3 separate regions of the Homo sapiens genome follow, and all the other regions are linked to region 2. The links are contacts of gene promoters, found by promoter capture Hi-C in human tissues and cell types (Jung and others, 2019). All regions are on one chromosome and are shown on one strand. The core of a region is centred on a gene start or on the middle of the fragment in contact, and the rest is flanking DNA. Distances in the headings are between cores, read along the strand shown. Region 1 overlaps CACNA1D (calcium voltage-gated channel subunit alpha1 D). Region 2 holds the start of TKT (transketolase). Region 3 overlaps STIMATE-MUSTN1 (STIMATE-MUSTN1 readthrough).

Region 1 (4,381 bases), core at 495-2,994, 460 kb before region 2:
TGTCAGATATTTAAATCTGATTCACTCTAATAGATGTGTAGTGGTATCTAACTGTGATTTTAATGTGCATTTTTGTAACAACTGATGGTCATTTCATGTGCTTATCTGCCATCCACATCTCTTCTCTGGTGAAATGCCTATTAAAAATTTTGCCCATTTTTTATTGGGTTTTTCTATTATTGACACTCTCCTTTATGCATTAATCTTTATATATATGGGATACCAGTCCTTTATCAAATATGCTTTGCAAATATTTTTCTCCAAGTCTGAAGCTAACCTTTTTCTTTTCTTTTGAAGAACAGAAGTTTAATTTTGACAAAGACCAATTTATCTGTTTGTTTTCTGTTACAGAAAGTATACTGGGTGTTGTATCTTAAGAAACCTTTGCATAACTCAAGATCACAAAGACTTTCTCCTGTTTTCTTTCTGGAATGTTCATGATTTTATATTTTATATTTAGGTCTTTGCCTATTTTAAGTTAGTGTTTATATATAGTAGGAAAATGTTTTTGTTGAAAAATGACACTCAGATGAAAAAGTACACTAATCATAGGTATATGGTTCAATGAGTTTTACCAACTGAACACGTAACCCGCATGCACATCAAGAAATGCTAGTACCTTGGAAGACTTCTTGAACTCCCTTTCTATGGAAAGCTTTCGAGCAGAAAAGTGACAAGCAGCAGCTCTCTTAGGAAAATGACTCAGAGGATAAGGAGGATTAATGGGGAGGCAAAACTCGTTACTGAGTCTTATTGGTTTACTTTGAGGGAGATCTTTGGCACCTAAGATCTCCCCCTAAGCCAGGCTCATAGGATTCAATTGACTGACTGCAATTCAGTATCAATGTTATAATCCACAGAGGAAAACTCAAGTCCAGAGCAATACTACGTAAAATTCAGAAGTGAGAACATACAAAGGCAACACACAGGCTGACGAAGAAACAGAAAGAAGATACTGACCTGAGTTTGGATTTTGAGATGGCTTGACTGAAAGAAAGACAAAAAGTGTTAAGATTCTGGTTCCGAGGGCTTGAGCACACACTCCCCATCATTTCAGCTGAGATATCATAAAAGCCATGCATACAGCCTGGACTTAGCACCCCTGGTTACCACAGCAGGCCAGCAGGGGCAAGGCCAGAGCAGAAATTAGGATGCTGCCAGGGCCAGAGGAGCAGACTGAGCACCCTCGAGGCCCAGGTCAGGGAAGACTCGGCCAGATTCCCTGCAGGCCCTGGCAGCAGGCAGTGATGCAGGGGCCAAAATGAAGGCAGCAGAGTCTCTCCTGCCACTCATCTCGACAGCAGCATTTGCTGCTACTACCGCAGAGGGAGCACTGCACTAGGAGTCCCAGCACTGCCATTCTCCCACTGGGTGAGTATGGGAAAGCAGCAGGTCTTGGGCCTCAGCATTCTCATCTGTAAAGTGGGGATGACAAACCCATTCTCTGTCTGCTTCATGATGTCTCAGAGAGGGCAGAGCAAGAGAATGGAGGCAAAATCACTTCACAAATGGTTGCATATTCTGCCCATAACACATCATTTTTATGAAACTCTGCCAAGAGTAAGATTGAGTTCTCTTAAAAATGACACCTGCACTTTACAGAGATAAGACCTGAAGGATACCAGCAAGAAGCAAACAAAACCAAACCGCACAGGGCTCCCCCACGGCAGACAGTGCCCAGCACATTCTGCACTGCTGGTCCCCCCCAGCCCCCCCGCCAGCTGCCACAGCCCAAATCATCTAGAAAAAAGCCAGTGAGTGTTAATGCAATGGTGCCTTCCATCATGAGGAGAGGCTGGTGCAGGGCTCCAGGGAAAAAGTGCCAGGCACCAAGAAGGCAGGGCCTCGTCATCCAACCGCCAGGCCTGAGGTTAGGAAGGTCCCATGAGCAAAGGAAAACTTAAATACGTAGCACATTCTAGTCAGCAACTCTGCCACAGAAGCTCTTCTTCAAAAGCACAAATGCCAAACCCAGGCTGGAAGGAGAATCAGGCCTTTACCCCCACCGCCGACACCCAGAGGGCCCCGCCTTGGCCGCGCCTCTCCGTCTCCACCAGCACCTAATGGACACAGCAGGTGGCCAGGTTAACCACCACATTCTTCACGGGCTCTACTTACAGGAAGAGGCATGTGAAATGCTGGGCCGGGGGGCGGGGGGGCGGGGGGTGGGGAGGTGTGCAGGAGGGATAGCCCTGGCACAGGAGGAAGCGTGGCGTGGGGTACGAGGAGCCTTCCCACCCGCCACACCCAAGGCGATGGCCCGGGGCTCTGCTGCAGCCTGGGCGGTCTTCCTCACCACCTGCTTCTCTGAGACAACAGGAGGGGAAAGAGGGCAAGTGCTCCCCACACTCACCAGAGACTTCCACAGCAGCCTCGGTTCTCGCCTTCACCGCTGACGTTCTCTGTGTTCACAGACTCAGTCTCGCTGGTGGGCATGCTAGCTGTGGGGAGAAGACGGGCTTCAGAGAGCATGCGGGGCACACTGCACGCCTGGGAGGCAGGCCAGGTGGGAGCCTCTGCCACCAGGCAGACCTCCGGAACCCAGGAGGAGGGTGAAAAGGGCCCTCAGGGCCTCAGCTGGGCTAAGGGAGTGCCAAGGAGCCAGGCATCTCCACTGCAGGCGAGTCTCTGCACCCATGGCCTGTAGGAAACACAGTCCCCCTCGAGGAGGACATTCTATCCCCCTAGACATTTCCAAGAAAGGAAGCTAAGGGATCAAAGTGAATCCTGTGGCTGGGTATAGCACCACTTTATCCTCCTCATCTCTGGGATCACACTGAGAAGCCACCAAAATGTACTTTACAGGTACATCTTTGCTTGCCCCAAAAGGTGCATATAGAACATCTGTGAATAACCCTAACATTTCATGAGTCAATCATCTTAAATATACTGAGGGAGAAGAGCTATTGTGAATGGGGAAGGCAGTGCATGAAGGTACCATGCACAACATTTTTTAGAGTTAAGAACTCTATTTTTTTGCTATTTTACCTGATGCTGAAGTTCTGCTGAGCTTGTGAAGCCAATACACAGAAAGTTCTTACCCAGTAAGCTGGGTAAGAACAACTAGAGCACCAAGGAATTATAGTGTTACGAGTGGAAGAAGAAGATCATTATCAACCAGTGAGCAGAGGGCAAGGTTGACTCTGGTCTCAGTATGACTAGGGTCTCTGGGCCCATCCCACTTCTCCATGGTAGGATCCTGAGCGGAAGTAGAGGAAATGTGGAAACACGCCCACTAGTGTGTGGAGGTCCAGGGTCCACCCAGGGCCACCATCTGGTGCACGAGCGTCTTTTCTCATCCACTTGATTCAACCCCATAAACATCACGAACACGTGCTGGAGCCCAGGCAGTGGAGGAGGGCAGGGGCAAAAAGAGGGCACACAGCACTGCACCCACCTGGAATAGGGGTGAGGGACAGGCAGCCCCCAGCTCACTTCCATCAGCTGTGAAGAGAGCTACCTCAGGGGTCTGTGCAGGAGGTTCCAGAGTAAAGAAGGATTAATTCTGCCGGGGTGCAGAGGTAAAAGAGGAAGTCACGGAAGAGAATCCACGTGTACTTCCTTTTTCCTGAGGCATGGCTTTGAACTGTAGTGACTGTTTTTACAGACCTTACGATGTCTTCAGGAAAGCTTGGCCCATGGGCTCTGCCCGTGTGGCTCCCCTTAGCAAGGATGCCTCAAGTTTCATCTGCAAATACTGGTAGTGGGCTGGAAGCGCTATGGCGAAGATTCTGAGGCCCAGCCCAGGCTCAGGGGGAAAGGAGCTGGATCAGGCAGCTCGCGTAGGGGGCTGTGTTCGGCCCGCCTTGCTCATAGCAGACTTCATAAAGGTAACAGCAGGGATAGAGGTGGAACCTGGCTCAAGGAACCCAGTGGTCTGAGAAGTTTCTTGAGGATACCAAAGAAGATCCCTGATCCGTTCCGCTTGTGAGTGCCCGAGAAACTGAGCCTGCCTGCATGGGAGCCTCCACGCCATGCCCAGGAACACTGAGGCAAGGGTGTCAAAAGTTAAGACCAAGTGAGTAAAATTATAGACTCATGTTACATTGCTGGTACTCTCATAGAATAATTTTCTTCTTTCCTAAGTGAGAAGAAACCAATTACAAACCTTGATTTACTTTTTCATTATTTCATGCAGAAACAAACAAACAAAAAAAACTGGACAAAAACAAACAAAAAATACGACTCTAATCATGGAAAAACCTTAAAAAAAAAAACTCCATTAACACACACAGACACACAAGAAGCTACTCATGCAATTCTCCTCGACTGTTCCTCACTCTGATTCAGCAGAAAGGTGAGGAGGTTGTTAAATCCAACAAAGAAAATCACAGTGGGAGACCCTTTTCACATCTGATCATGAGTTAACTCTGTGCGGCAT
Region 2 (4,175 bases), core at 45-2,544:
TCCCACTCTGGGGAGCTTCATACCTCTGGGAACCATGGGGTCTGATAACAGTAGTGGTGGGTGCCCCTGTCCCTACAGACCTGGAAGCAAACCCAATAATCTCCCTAAAAGTCAGTAGTGTTTCTAGGCCCTAATAATTTGTAAAGGATCTTCCCCTAGTAATTTCTCAGTTATCATCACCTGGCATTGTCATGGCTACCACTATCCTATTCTCATTTTCAATAATCCCCATCCCCTGTGCAGGGCTCTAAAGCCCTGAGTGGCTGGGCATGGTGGCTCATACCTATAATCCGGCACTTTGGGAGGCAGAGGAGGGCAGATGGCTTGAGCCTAGGAGTTCAAGACCTGCCTGGGTAAAGTGGCAAAACCCCATCTCTACAAAACATACAAAAATTAGCCGGGCGTGGTAGTGTGTACCTATGGTCCCAGCTACTTTTGAGGCTGAGGCAGAAGGATCACTTGAGCCCAGGAGGCTGAGGCTTCAGGCAGCTGTAATCACTCCACTGCATTCCAGCCTGGGTGACCATGGGTGACCCCGTCTCAAAGAAAAAACAAGTTTTTTAATTATTAGAAAAAAGAAATAGGGCCTGGTGCGGTGGCTCACCCCTGTAACCCCAGCACTTTGGGAGGCCGAGGCGGATCACCTGAGGTCGGGAGTTCAAGATCAGCCTGACCAACATGGAGAAACCCCGTCTCTACTAAAAATACAAAATTAGCTAGGTGTGGTGGCGCATGCTTGTAATCCCAGCTACTAGGGAGGCTGAGGCAGGAGAATTGCTTGAACTCAGGAGGCGGAGGTTGTGGTGAGCCAAGATCATGCCATTGCACTCCAGCCTGGGCAACAACAGCGAAACTCAGTCTCAAAATTAAGTCCTGCAGTCTCTTGGGCCTGGGGTTGGTCGGCTGGGGCCAAGCCTGGCACCCACCAGCCTTGTGACCTTGATTGCCCTTGCCAAGCCTCAGTTTGTCCATCTCTAAAATGGGATTCGCCGTGACAAGTCCACGGAGGACTGTGTGGAGGAGGGAGACTGAGAGGCTTTCGAGTCAGGAGCCCAGACTCGAATCCTGAGTTGTTCGTTATGTTATTATTATTGGTGTGTGTGGTTAACTGCTAACCTCGCAGTCCGCAGCGGCCCAGCGCCTAGGGGAGGGGAGCGGGCAGGAGGCGGCCCCAGGCGGGGCGGGGCTGAAGGCCTGGGGTGATCCGAGCCCCGCCTCCTCCCCCTGCCCCGCCTCTCCCATCCCCGCCCCGCCCCGCCCGGCGACTTAACGCGCCCCCGCCCCGCGCCCGGCCTCGGCAGCCGCCTGTCGCCGCGGGAGCAGCCGCTATCTCTGTGTGTCCGCGTGTGCGCCCGGTCCCCGCCTGCCGCACCATGGAGAGCTACCACAAGCCTGACCAGCAGAAGCTGCAGGCCTTGAAGGACACGGCCAACCGCCTACGTATCAGCTCCATCCAGGCCACCACTGCGGCGGGCTCTGGGTGAGTGCGCGGCGCCGGCCGGGGACGCGGCTCGGGCGGGGCGGGGGGCGTCTGCGGCGGCCAGAGTCGCCGCGGGCTCTGGGTCGCGCTGCGAGATGCCTAGACGAGGAAGGTGGCCCGGGCGCCGTCGGAGGGCGGAGACGCGCGCCTCGCAGGGCCCCGGGCTGCAGGCGGCTTCCGCTGCGCCGCACACTCGCCCTACGCCCGGGCTCGGCCGCGTGGGCCTCTGGTCCTCCGTGCGCCTCAGGCCGGCTCTTCCCCACGCGGATCGCCGGCCGCGCAGCTGCATGGTGGCGCGGGGGATGGGCTCGCGACTCGCCAAGTACCCTCTAGGGTGATGCCGGGAAGGCCACCATTACTGCTGTTCTACAGAACGCGGCCCTCTTAACCCTCTCCACCACCTGGCTGTGTGGGCGCCGCCGGGAGTGTTCCCCCTTCCAGATGGGGAAACGGAGGCTCCGAGTTAGTCAGCTACCCAAAGTTACACACAGGGAGATCTGATTTGAGCCCCAGCAGTCCGACTCTAGAGACCCTGTTTTTAATTCCTCTTGCAGGAGACTCGGGGGCCCGGCCTTCTCCCCACCTCAGACTACGCTCCCCTACCCCTGTCTCCTGCCACCCCTGGGTTGGGTCCGAGTTTGGAGCAGGGGGCTGCTGAGACGCCAGGCAGCGGCGGGGCTGATTGGGGGAAGAGGGGAGGAGGGCGGTGGCACGTGGGTGCAGAACCCTGGGATCCATTGTGAAAAGGAGGTCTAAGATTTGACCTGGGGCGGGAGGAGGCGGAGGGCAAGGAGACTGAGAAGGCTGAGCGCCGGAAGGACGGAGTTCCAGGGCCCTAGCGCCGGGAGTGACGTCCTGGGGCAGGGCCAGCCACCAGGTGCTGTATCTCCCAGGCAGGAGCTGGCGTGCCTAGGCCCCAAGATCCTTCCCTGGCCAGCCCTTTTGGCCCAGAAGGTGGACACCCAAGGAGCCTCCTCTGTAGCGGAGACAGGGATAATTAATGAGGGCCACCGTGCATGCAGCTGGAGGTGTCCAGTGGGGTGGGTGAGGGGGTCAGTCAGTGAATTACTTCAGAGCCTGCTTCCCGCTCTGTAAAGCGGGGACAGTAATGGCACTTAACCACGCTGGGTGGTTTCAAGGACTCCAGTGCTCTACTTGGAGGCTGCTTTGAGGCCACAGTGCCAGCAGTGCTCCGGGCTCATGACAGGGTTGTGAGGGCTGCGTGATGGATGATTTCTCGGGACCTTCCCAAACAAGCTCTGTTTCAGACAGACAAGATTCTGGCTTCTGGCCAATTTCATTCAGGATATATTATTAAGAAGTAAATCTGTTCACCTTTCTGGGTGGATACGCATTCACCCTTTGTGCCTCTAAGACACCCTGTTCTCAGAAGGGATTAGATGTCTTTCAAAGCCCTTCCCCCACCCACTGCCTTGCACACTTTGGACCTGTTAGCTCTCCTGGGTTTGTGTCAGTCTTACCACTTATGTGGGGTATCCCCTGCCTGGGCAGGGACCTGGCTTACTCTCAGCTCCCCTTTCACCAGCCTGGCACACGGTAGCTCTGCAGGCCTTGTATTGCTTATTTGGTACTGTTGGACCTGCTACCTTTGGCCGTTTCAGGGGGTCTGAGGTCTAGCTGGAGAGAGGCAGCAATTACCCAACTAAGTAGTATTGCACATCTGAGCATCTTTCAGGGCTAGATAAAACATGCAGATGTTTACAGGGTTCCTGAGCTGCCAAGTAGGTATCTGGTATGACACAGCATCATCGTTTGTTGCATCCTGAGAATAACCCTGTGAGATAGATTGTGTTGTATTCACATTTTATAGACGGGAACACTGAGGCTAGTGTGTTAAGTTACTTGCCCAGGCTGGGAATTGGTGGCCATTCCGTACTGTCTGGTTGGGGCTCATGCTGTCAGGAATGCTTCTTGGCAGGGCATGGTGGTTCATGCCTGTAATCACAGCACTTTGGGAGGCCAAGGTGGGAGGATTGCTTGAGCCCAGGAGTTCCAGACCAACCTGGGCAACACAGTGAGACCCCATAGCTTAAAAAAAAAATTTTTTTTTTGAGATGGAGTCTTGCTCTATCGCCCAGGCTAGAGTGCAGCAGCACAATCTTGGCTCACTGCAACCTCTGCCTCCCAGGTTCAACTGATTCTCCTGCCCTAGCCTCCTGAGTAGCTGGGACTACAGGCATCCGCCACCGCACCGGCTAATTTTTGTATTTTTAGTAGAGATGGGGTTTCACCATCTTGGCCAGGCTGGTCTCTTGACCTCAGGTGATCCACCCACCTCGGCCTCCCGAAGTGCTGGGATTACGAGTGTGAACCACTGCCCCCGGCCAAACATTTTTTTTAATTGGCTAGGTGTGGTGATGTGTACCTGTAGTCCCAGCTACATGGGAGGCTGAGGCAGAGGATCACTTGAGCCCAGGAAGTTGAGGCTGTAGTGAGCCTTGAACATGCCACACACTGCAGCATGGGTGACAGAGTGAGACTGTGTCTCAAAAGAAAGAAAGAGAGAGAGAGAGAAAGAAAGAAAGGCCAAGAAAAGAAAAATAGTTGGGCATGGTGTTACATGTATGCCAGCACTTTGGGAGGCCAAGGCAGAAGGTTCGCTTGAGGCCAGGAGTTCAAGACCAGCCTGGGTAACATTAGCAAGACCCTGTCTCCAAAAATAAATAATGTTTCG
Region 3 (4,121 bases), core at 112-2,611, 360 kb after region 2:
TGTACGCAAGGAAAGATGAACATACTCAGAGACAAGCTTATGAAGATACTTTCCACTTAGAGTTTTCTGAAGTGTCTGCTAGGTATCTGCATAGAAAGAAACGCTTTAAACGAGGGGGCTTTGCCAAGCAATTCCTCGTTTTGGTGGTTTTAAGCAATTCCTCGTTTTGGTGGTTTTGTCTATAGTCTGTGACTTGACAAAGTTGCTCAGCTAGGGTCTCAGCAGAACAGAGCTAAGCAGTCCTAGAGCTCAGCAAACTGTTCCAGTGCAGGGTAGCCAACCAGCTGTCAGCCAAAGGTCGTGTTGGCCAGTGTGTGTGTTGGCATTTGGGGGTGTTTGCTCTCAGGACATGTGAATGCAAAGCAAACTCAAGCCTCCCTCACCGTGCACAGTCAGGGTTCTGGGCTGAAGTGTAGACAGAATTGGTTTTTAATAAAACAAGCATTTTGAGAGCTTGGATAAATCTGCCTGCCTATTTTTGTTATAGACATGGGGCCTAGCCAGCTGGGAGAAATGTGTCCATGTTTTACAAAAACACTGCTAACATTGAGAAGTGATAACTTTTTTCCTGCAATCCAAAGTAAAAATCACAAACCAGTCCACTCAGCTTTGATATCTTAAATGAGAGTTTCTGGGGTTTTCTCCGTGGTAAACCGGCCTCCCTGTGTGCTCTGTGTGAACAGGCTTGTGTTGGCACAACCTTCCCTACGATCACCTCTCCCCACCCCATCCTGGTTTTTATCTCTAAAAATGTCAAACGTAGAAAACATGAAAAATAATACACTGAACATCTGTCTGCCCTCTACCTAGATTTAGCAGTTGTTCACATTTTGTCACATTTGCTTTACCTCTTTATGCTTTTTTTTTTTTGGCTGAGCCATTTGAAGGTAAATTGTGACCAGCATCACACTTTACTGCTAAATACTTCAGCTAAGTCTCCCCAAAATAAGGACAATCTCCCACATAACCACAATTTCATCATCATACTTAAGAGAATTAATAATAACTCCATGATATCATCTCATATCCAGTCCATAGTCACATTTCCCCAAATGTCACAAGTCTTTTATAGCTGGAGTTTTTAAAAGCTAAGATCCAATCAAGGTCCACACGTTGTGTCTGGTTACGTTTTCAGTCACTTTCGTTTCTAGAAGAACCTCCTCCTACACATACATGCACACTTTTTTTTTTTTTTCAATGTTTCTGGCTTTTTGAAGAGTTCTGGCTGCTTGTTGTGTGGAGTGCCCCACATTCTGGAGTTGTCTGGGTGTTTCCTTGTGGTGTTTGAATTGTTTCACTGGCCCCTGTTTTCCTGAGTTTGGTCTGGAGCAGTTATTAGATTCAGATACCCAGTTTTATGGCAAGAACACGCCATAAGCGGCGCTGTATGTTTCATGTACATTCCACCAGGAGGCATGTGACATCACGCTGCCCCACTATTAGTGTTAATAAGGTTGATGACTTGGTGATGGTGGATGGAAGACCTCTCAGTCTCTCCCTCGTAAAGGTACATCTTCCCCTGGGCAATTAATAAGGGATCTCTGCAGTGATAATACTTTGAGATCATGTGAATACTCTGTTTCCCAGTAGCCTTTCACCCAGTGATCACCTCCTCCTGGTAAAATAACAGAATACAGTGACAGCTGAATTGGAGCTGGAGCTCACGAGTGAAGGCGCCTGTCTTTGGGTCTGGAACCCAGCACAAACTCAATCAGTGTCGCTGTCCTTTCCTCCTTCTGGAGTGCCAGCATGGGCAAAGGAAGAACGCCCCTTTTTTCATGCCAAGCTGGTGTTGTGGCCAATGTTAGCATACTGGCTGGCTCAGAGCTTTCATTTTTAGAAAGTTTTCAGGTTTTCTAAATGTTTATTTATTTGGTAGCATTTATCCATAATGGCAATCTGCTGCTTGATTTATCATGTAACTTCATTAATTTCGAATAAAATCAGGACAACAGGAAGTTGTCTGAATTAGGGGACAATCTGAGTTGTAGAATAACTTACCAAATGCATTTTTTTTAAACTTTTGAATACCTCTGTTGGCCACATGTTGCCCTGTTGGGGCCTCTCATGCTTCTGCTGCTTTAATATCTGTTTAAAGTCTTTTGCAGTTAGTATATTTGCACAAACATGAAGATTTGTTGAAGGGGTTTTACAAGTGGTTAAAAATAACAGGATCCCTGGCTCTGGATCCAGCCTGACCCAGCATCCATGTCTGCTTCGCTCTGCCATGTGGTGCCCCTGAGCAACTTCTGCATTTCTCAAAGCTTCAGTTTTCTCCCCAGTAACATGTGGTAATAATCTGTCTTTTCTGGGGCTATGGAGATGAGAAAGAATGTGTTTGAGGAAGCTGGGTTGGTGTCAGGCACATGTTAGGCCCTCCTTGGGGGTGTGTCTTCATCCTTGTTATTACATTGTATTCATGAGTTGGGCTGAAAAATGTTTCACAAGTGCTTAAGTAACTTATTTTCTGAATTAGGTTAAACATTCCCCTTTCTTTCTTGTTTGTACAATGTCTTTACCTTTAGCCCTCTTCACAGAGTGCATGGCAGTGAAAAAAAAAAGAAAGAAAGAAAAGCACCTTTAGCCCAGCCAGCACAGTGAGTGTGAATCCAGATTAGCATGCGCCAAAACAAGGTGGCTTTCGTGGCCAAAATAATCTTCCTTGACCTAATCTTTCTTGTGTTTTTACCGGCAGGGCCCTCATGTGGGCTCTGAGAGAGAGGGCAGTGGGTGCCTGGGGCTGCCCCACTTCCAGGTGATGAACCTGCTTCAAGTCGCTGGCTTTTCTTTGCCCAGGGCCCATGGTAGTAGGTGGTGGCGCTGGCCCCTGGAGCCGGCCTCTTTTCTGCAGCCTACTCTTCACTGAGTTCCCAGCATGCCAACCCCCCTCACAGGAACCCTGTACAGAAGCGGTCGGTGAGCAGGTGAAGTGCCTTGTACAAGGGCTCCTGGTTAGTAAGTGCAGAACTGAAATGTAAGCCGGGTCCCTGGGACCCCAGACACCCTGAGCCACTTCCTCTGTGCCTGCCGGCTTTTTCCACCCCTCTTTCCACACAGGTTCACTTTCTGATTACTCCGTATCTGTGGCTACTTCACCTCATTTTTTTTCTATCTGAACAATTCTGATTTTCTTTCTTGATAATTATTTTTATTTAATTTTATTTAAAGCATTATTGTTTTTTGACTGTTGATAACATTAAAAATATAAATTTGAAATGACTCATCAATCATTTCATGCCTACATGAGTCACACGCTAGGTCTGCTTTTCTGGGCCTTTGTGAAGATTTTCCTTGCCTGGGCAGAGGGTGGTGATTCTACCCCAAGGCTGAGGTCTAGCATCTGAGGCGAAGGCACCCCCGCCCTACCCCAGAGCAGCAGAAGCAGGCAGCACGGAGTCCCTTTACTCGCTGGTGAGGAAGGGTCTGCAGGGCTCTGGGTGGCTTCAGGTTACCTGCTGAGTTTCACAGAGTTCATTTCCCTGTTGGTTGCCATATGACTATAAGGAAGGTCATTAATAATCTTGAGGTTTACCCAGAAGAATTATCCTTTTCCTTGTGTATGCATAGAAGCAGTTGGTGAGTCTCTTTTAGATTACTCCACTGCTAGGAAAGCTATCCATTGAATCCAGAGTTTTTCAGCCTGGCACTGTTGGTACTTTGGATGAGATAATTCTTTCTTGTGGGAGGCTCTCCTGTGCATTGCAAGGCATTTAACAGCATCCCCAGCCTGCCTCTACCCACTAAATGCCAGTAGAATCTCTCATTGTGACAACCAAAAATGTCTCCCGACATTGCCAACTGCCCCCTGGGGGGCCAAATCGCCCCTATTTAAGAACCACTGCATCGGTTCAGTTTGTGAATTTCTCAGCAAACTCATATTTGCTCTAGAAGAACAGATTAGAAGGTCAGTGTGTTGTTTCCAAAGTATAAGAACAGTGGACTATCAGGATCTCTTAAGTACTTTGGTGCCAAGCCCGCTATTGGATGTTTCCTTGACGAAGAGCTGAGACTGGTCCCCAGTCCTTGAGGGGCTCACAGCTGGAACAGGCTGTAGGAAGGCAGGCAGGCAATTCCAGTATAGCGTGAAGAGGATTGTAGAAGCCTGAACACACTGGAGAGGG

The links. The method cuts DNA at HindIII sites, captures the fragments that hold promoters and counts their contacts. A contact is called where the count stands out against the background at its distance.
Region 1: a fragment that was not itself captured here is called in contact with the fragment with the promoter of TKT in region 2 in 2 of the 25 tissues and cell types used here (dorsolateral prefrontal cortex and thymus).
Region 3: a contact is called between a fragment that was not itself captured here and the fragment with the promoter of TKT in region 2, in 1 of the 25 tissues and cell types used here (hippocampus).

The regions. Positions count from the first base shown.
Region 1 is chr3:53,716,361-53,720,741 of GRCh38, reverse strand. It overlaps CACNA1D (calcium voltage-gated channel subunit alpha1 D), which reads right to left. Exons shown (of 48, transcript NM_001128840.3): 10 at 2,354-2,441; 11 at 961-987. Among named protein-coding and RNA genes, the nearest start is that of CHDH, 130 kb to the left of the region's middle. RefSeq lists enhancers at 1,303-1,883, 1,884-2,464, 3,428-4,381. The HindIII fragment of the contact is 4,874 bases long and covers 1-4,181 here.
Region 2 is chr3:53,253,141-53,257,315 of GRCh38, reverse strand. TKT (transketolase) reads left to right here and starts at 1,294. Exons shown (of 14, transcript NM_001064.4): 1 at 1,294-1,480. The coding sequence starts at 1,374. RefSeq lists a silencer at 1,008-1,697. The HindIII fragment of the contact is 27,166 bases long and covers 1-4,175 here.
Region 3 is chr3:52,890,121-52,894,241 of GRCh38, reverse strand. All of the region lies in intron 1 of STIMATE-MUSTN1 (STIMATE-MUSTN1 readthrough), which reads left to right. The region is part of intron 1 of STIMATE (STIM activating enhancer); the gene reads left to right. Among named protein-coding and RNA genes, the nearest start is that of STIMATE, 5.4 kb to the left of the region's middle. The HindIII fragment of the contact is 5,072 bases long and covers 1-3,897 here.